Regions from separate parts of the Homo sapiens genome. Here region 2 is linked to region 1. The links are contacts of gene promoters, found by promoter capture Hi-C in human tissues and cell types (Jung and others, 2019). All regions are on one chromosome and are shown on one strand. Each heading gives the region's core, a stretch centred on a gene start or on the middle of the fragment in contact. The rest is flanking DNA. Distances are from core to core; before and after follow the strand shown. Region 1 holds the start of DIAPH3 (diaphanous related formin 3). Region 2 overlaps DIAPH3 (diaphanous related formin 3).

What was found. The method cuts DNA at HindIII sites, captures the fragments that hold promoters and counts their contacts. A contact is called where the count stands out against the background at its distance.
Region 2: a contact is called between a fragment that was not itself captured here and the fragment with the promoter of DIAPH3 in region 1, in 1 of the 25 tissues and cell types used here (IMR-90 fibroblasts).

Annotation. Positions count from the first base shown.
Region 1 is chr13:60,162,139-60,165,574 of GRCh38, forward strand. DIAPH3 (diaphanous related formin 3) reads right to left here and starts at 1,790. Exons shown (of 28, transcript NM_001042517.2): 1 at 1,449-1,790. The coding sequence starts at 1,628. It overlaps LOC105370227 (a long non-coding RNA gene), which reads left to right and starts at 1,919. Exons shown (of 2, transcript XR_942001.2): 1 at 1,919-2,061. RefSeq lists enhancers at 2,179-2,228, 3,317-3,436. The HindIII fragment of the contact is 10,910 bases long and covers 1-3,436 here.
Region 2 is chr13:60,126,112-60,129,547 of GRCh38, forward strand. All of the region lies in intron 2 of DIAPH3 (diaphanous related formin 3), which reads right to left. Among named protein-coding and RNA genes, the nearest start is that of DIAPH3-AS2, 17 kb to the right of the region's middle. The HindIII fragment of the contact is 9,956 bases long and covers 1-3,436 here.

The sequences.
Region 1 (3,436 bases), core at 540-3,039:
TTAACAAATGGCATGCTGAGATGGTCAATGTGACATACATAAGAATGAAAAACAGCACAGAGACTGGAAACCAAATGATGAAATCCTTCAATGAAACTTAACATAAATACTAATTTAGATCCTGTTTTCATGACCTCCTTGCTGGGAATGAGTCACAGAAAATAACACCTCCTGTATTCTGGACCACAGAAGTTAAAACAAAATAAAATAAGATTATTAACCCAGAGAGTAGACTATAAAAGGAAGAAAAGTCATTGCCTTAGTGGATTCTTCTCACATTAGGCAAAAATCTTTCATTGGGAAGTTAACTCTGTCCTATTCATTCTTCAGATTTGTCAAGATAATGATCAAGTCCATACTTGATCCTTCTGCAAAATGTCACTATTCCTATGACCATTTTGATACTTAATTTGGCATAATTAATCTATGCTGTTCCTCATTTTCAATTAATCTATGCTGTTTCTCATTTTCAGTATTCTGATATATCTCATGTATCAGAATATGGGCTCTCAGTCTTATTCAACTATTATTTTTAACTAAATGTTATAGTTAGCAACTGGTTCACAAACCATTATTCCCTTAATTTGTGAATCATGACTTAAATTTCTCACAATTTTTACTTGCCCACATAAGGCAAATGCTGTACTCTCTCTCTCTCTCTCTCTCTCTCTCACACACACACACACACACACACACACACACACACAGTTTTTCCATATTCCTAAGGAAAATGGTGGAGTGGTCAATGTGAAATTTCAATTCTGTTGGACTCATCCCAAATCTATCAACCCTCTATGTGATTTATTTACACACACAAACCCCAAAATAATCATCACTGCCTATACTTTCACTAGTTGACACCAACGAAAAGACAAGGTGTTAATCATGACACTTTCCTTAAGTGTTAAACACAAGCAAACCAGAATAGCAAGTTTCAAATATTTAGAATTCTTTCCAAGCTAAGCAAAACATTCTTTAGCAGTGACCACACCACCCGCCAAGTTCTAAAACTAGCTGTTTCAACTTGGAAAATTATATCTACCTTAAAAGTTCTTATATGTAATTAAAAGTTCTTATTAAAATAATAAGCAGAAAAAAAACCTGTCACCTAAAAGTTCATTTTGATATATCTTATACCCTCTTACACTAGGGAGGAAGGGAGAACTTCGACTTAAAAAATGCAATGTCCACCTAGATGACGTCAATACATATACACGTTTGAACTGCTTTTCACATCAGCGTTAAGAAATTTGGGGGCAACACAAAGATCTGGGCATTTGTCACAGGATCCAACTACAACTAGACCCGGTCGTTGTCAATCTATGATCTTTGGCACCTCTGGATCTCTAGAATAAAACTTGGTCCCCAAGTTCTTGTGGGCCCACCCTCGGCAGTCAGCCCTACGGCGGGGCGGGAGCGGCCCCACCCTAGCTCCAGGCGATACTCACAAACTTGGGGCGCTTCTCCCCAGGCTCCTCGGGGCCACTGGGCGGCGGAGGGTGTTGGGGGCCCTTCCTGCGCGGCATCTTGCTTTCCCGGCAGCCGCGGAGAGAGGCTGAGGAAGGGTAGGGAGTCCCAGCGGCTGAGCCTTGGGCCGGGTGGTGCAGCCGCGGCTGGTGCCGTTCCATCTTTCCCCGCAGCTCCGGGGACCGGAAAGAAGGTGGCCACTCAGCAAGCCGCAAGCTGGAAGCTGAGGGATCGACAACAGGTTTTACTCCCGGGGTCCGCCACCCAAACAGTCAGCACAGCCTAGCCCAACCGCTGAAGTCGGGGCCGCAGCCAACACATCTGAAAACTCCCGCCACCCGTGTTGGCCCGGGACTGGCCAATCCCGCGCCGCCGGATCAATGACACGCTGAGGCACCGCCCCTTCCGGGCACTGCGAAACATGATTGGCCTTGCGGCCTGTCTATGCAGCCGCTCAACCCTTCCGGCGGTCCAGGCCGCTCACCTTAAGGACGCAGAGTGGCGTCAGATTTGGAGAAGCGCCGGGGACCGTGGAGGAAGTCATCGGCCTGGATTTCTTTGGATTTGCAGATAGGGTTCCAGCAGAACTGGAAGGTGGGCGAGACAGGCCCTGCGCCACCATTTGAGCAGCGCTGGGATATAAAACCATCTGCTAGCCCTCTCCTTGCACGTCTGGGGCTGGAAAAAGTAGTTCTGGGACTGGGTACGGTGCTGGAAGGGGTACTAGGCAGGATGAAACGACGGGGCCCACGACGCTCCAAAAGGAAGCCTTCTGGACATATTTCCTGCCTAAGTGCTCGCTCTGGGGTGGCAGAGGGGTCCACCCAAAATCAGACAGAGCTAGGCTAGGCTGAGCCCTTCAGGAGCTCACAGTCTCCTGTAGTTTCCAAACCCTAACACAATTAACCAAGGAATGTAAATGTCTATAGCAGTTGTTTTAGAAGTTCCTTGAGAACAAAAAGGGAAGTTATTAAATCTGAAGGAGTGGATCTGGAAAGGTAAAAGGAAAGCTGCATAGGTTTTCACTAGGCAGGAAACAGTGGCAGGGCATTCATTTAAAAGGCATTCCATTCCAGGCAGGAGCAAGGCCAAGAAAGCATAGAGGTGAAGAAACTTTAAGGTCACATAACAAAGGGCCTTGAACTGAAACCATGCAAAAGAGTTTGTTGTGTAAACCCAAGGTCAAGCTACAAGGCAAACACCGTTTTCTCAACACATCAATATACCCTCTTTAAAAATGAGCTTTTCCTTGGAACTATTCCTTTAAGATATCTGTCTTCTGATTATATGGAGGTGGTGTAGGCCAAGACTCGGAAACATGCAGTATTGATTTTGGTACAAGAAACAACTCTAGGTACTCTGAGGAGTTTGGCACAGAGGTTCAAAAAATGAGCCTTAGTTCTCAGTAAGTCTTCACACTACAGCTTTTCTTTTTTAATATTTGTTTTACTGTGCCAGACTCTACAGCTCTGTCCTCAAAGAGCACATAATCTTTAGGGAAACTTACAGGAGAACAGCAAGGTCAGGAGAACTACAAGTAGTTCCTTATATCTTGATGACAGACCCAGATACAGATTTTATTCCTGCCATTTACTAGCTATTTGATACCGGAGATGACGTTTAACTTTCTTTGCTGCTTCATCTACAAAAGGGGGGTAATTATACTAATACCTATGAAAGAGGGGCATTTTCAGGCCTAAATAACATAGCATATGTAAAGCCCTTAGAGTTTTGTCAATGCTCCTACAGGAATACTGTAGTTGAAGAAGTTGGGATTATTACTCAGGGAGGGAGAACATGCACTATGGGGAGCCATGAAGTGTCTTAGGTAAATGGTATTAGAAAGCACTTAAAGGATTTGGGCTTTGATTAGGTGATTTGGGAAAGACTCCGTGGAAAGAGGTGGGAAGGGTTGCTCAAGATTAAGTGCCTTCAGGAAGTGGAGACAGTTCAGTGATTATCTTATCTA
Region 2 (3,436 bases), core at 499-2,998, 36 kb before region 1:
CAGAGGTGATTACCCAAGTAAAACACTACATACCGAGGGAAAGAATAGTAGAATCAGGAAAAACAACTGAGAAAAAACAATAATTTAAGGCAAAAAGGAAAAATTATGCAACCAGATAGATAATGAAAAGTCAAAGGGGTATGAAATTGAGAAAATTTGATGTCACAGAAGTCAAGAAATCTTTGTTCTCCAAAGAAGCAGCATATGATTATATCAAGTAGAGTAGGTAAATCCAATAAATTTCCAAGAACTAAAAACTAATAAAAATTATTTGTGATTTTAAAACGTCATTTATTAAAGATAAAGAAGTCACAACAATCTTATATATGCACTTTACTGCAAAGCTTCAAAATACGTGAAGCAAAAACCAATCGAACGGGAAAAATAAAATCTAAAATCACAGTGGGAGACTTCGATACTTCTCTCAATAATTGTTAGAACACACAGAAAATTAACAAGAATACAGAAGATGTGAACAGCACTACCAACCATTCAGAATATACACGAATACTGACCAAGATAGACCATGTTCTGGGACATAAAGTAAGACTTAAAAAATCAGAAAGGACAGAATTCATGCAAACTACAGGTCTCTGACCACGAGGGAACTAAATTACAAATCAGACACAGTCAAATATCAGGAAAACCCCTAAATATTTGGAAGTTAAATAACATATACCAAAATAACCCATGGGTCAAAGAAAATAAGAAATTTAAAAATATTCAATTCAATAAAATTTTGTGGGATGCAGCTAAAGCAGATGTCAGAGGAAAATTTATAGCATAAAAAATCTAACATGTTAGCAAACAAAGGTATTAAATCAATGACTTAGAGTTCTACCTTAAGAAATCAGAGAAAAAAATAATAAAACAAAAGAAAGTAAATAATAAAGGTAAAACAAACAAAAACAAAAGAACTATAAAGAAAATTAGTGAAAACAAAAGCTAGTTTTTCAAAAGATCAATAAAACTGGCAAACCTCTAGCCAGACTAGTCACAGAGAAAAACACAGAAAACACAAATTATCAATATGAGGATTGCAAAGGGGGTAATTAATACAGATCCTGCATTAAAGGGATAAGAAAATATCACAAACAACTTTATACCCATAAATTCAACAACATAGATAAAATTTAAAATATAGGTAAAAATTTAGATTTAACAATATAGGTAAAATGTATGTCCTTGAAAGACATAAACTACCAAGGCTCACTTAGGAAAAAATAGATTACTTGAATAGTCCTATATCTAGTAACAGACATTTAAACAAGAAAATGTTAAATAAGCACATAAAAAAAAGTTCAACATTAGTAATTGTGGGAAACAATTTGTCAGTTTCTTATCAAGTTAAAGACACACTTACTATATGACTCCCACAAAAAACAAAAACATATACACAAAAAAAAACAATGCTGTACTCAAATGCTCATAGCAACTGTACTAATAATAGCCGAAAACTGGAAACAACCCAAACTGCTGAAGTTAAACCAATTGTAGTATTACCAAACAATGAGCCAGACACAAAGGCAACACACTTTGTGACTCCATTTATATGAAATTCTAAAAACTGAACTATAGTTCAGAATGCTGATAAGTGTTTGTCAAAAGCCAGGATGGGAGAAGAGAATTGACTGTAAGCGGGTACAGAGGGAACCTTTTGGGGTGATGGAAATATTTCATATCACGACTAGTGCACTCATTATTGTATATATTTCTCAAAATTCATCAGATTATACTCAATACTGGTACAATATAATGCACGTAAATTATATTGTAAGTAAATCATACCTCAACTTTTTTTTTAACTTTTAGGTTCAGAGGTACATGTGCAGGTTTGTTATATAGATAAACTCATGTCACATAGGTTTGTTGTACAGATTATTTCAGCCAGGTACTGGTCCTAGTACTAGTACTTAATAGATATTTTTTCTGATATTCTCCCTCCTCCCACCCATCACCCTCAAGTATGCCCCAGTGTCTGTTTTTCCCCTCTTTGTGTCCATGTGTTCTCATCATTTAGCTCCCACTTACAAGTGAGAACATGCAGTATTTGGTTTTCTGTTCCTGTGTTAGTTTGCTAAGGATAATGGCCTCCAGCTCCATCCATGTTCCTGCAAAGGACATGATCTTGTTCTTTTTTATGGCTGCATAGTATTGCATGGTGTATTAGTACCATACTTTCTTTATCCAATCTGCCATTGATGGGCATTTAGATTGATTCCATGTCTTTGCTATTGTAAATAGTGCTGCAATGACCATACGTGTACATGTGTCTTTATGGTAGAAAATTTTATATTCCTTTGGGTATATACCCAGCAATGAGATTGCTGGATCATACCTCATTTTTTGAAAGTGTGTATTACTAAACATAGCACTAAATTATAAATGCACGGTTTACCAAGCATCTTACTTAATTTGTCCCTTAAACTATCTCTATACCAAGGCTCAAAAGCTACATAACTAACACAAAGTCACACAGCTAGTAAATGGCAGAGGTGGCATTCTAACCTGGCTTTCCTACATGCAACTACATATAATAAAGAATAGACACTAATGCAAAGACCTCATGACTTCCTCTAGTTTCTGTGCAGGCCAATGTTTGGTTTTCTAGCTATAGCTGTTAACCATTTGTGGGTCATGAAATCAATTTAGTGGATTCAATTACCTTTTTTTTTTTTTTAAGGAATGGAGAGGAGTGAAGAAAATTAGAAAGGAATGGAAATAAAAAGATCAGAATTCATTTTGCTTAGAAATGTTAAATACTGGTTTTTAAACTTTTGTTTCAACTGAGAAGCAGAGAGTTTAGGAGTTTATGCATGCCAGGCTACAAAATAAAATATATTTCTTAATGCAGTATCTAGTCAAAAAGATTTGAAAACCATTGCTGCAGGCCAAACAGTAAAGCAGGCTGCAGTCAGATGAACAAAGAGATGAGGATCATAGAAGTACTATACTGTAGACAAATGGTTATGAAGGACAGGAGAGAAAACAGCAAGTCAAAAACAACTCCTATACTCCAAAAACACTCAGTGGACACACTGATGGATAATTTAGCATTGTCACATCCACATTCAATGTCTTCCAACTTACCTTTTCAAACCTGTCTCCCCTCACTCCCCCCTCCTCCCAACCTTTTTGCCTCTATGAGGAAAACCTTCTTCAAAACCCAGGTATAAGCAATGGAAGTTATAAGCTAAACATTTATTCACCTTTATTTATTACCCTAGCACCTAAGCTGCACTTTATACAAAGAGAATGCTCATATTTATAGAACAAACACTGCTTATAGTCTATTAACTCTGCCTAGGGAACCCAACAATATAGCAATCCTTTATTCCTTTAACAAGACAGTGAAATTCAATTCTGATAGTAACTCAAGAAATAACCTTAAAACATGAAGTACTTTTGCAGACCTTTAACAAAACAACTTAAAGGG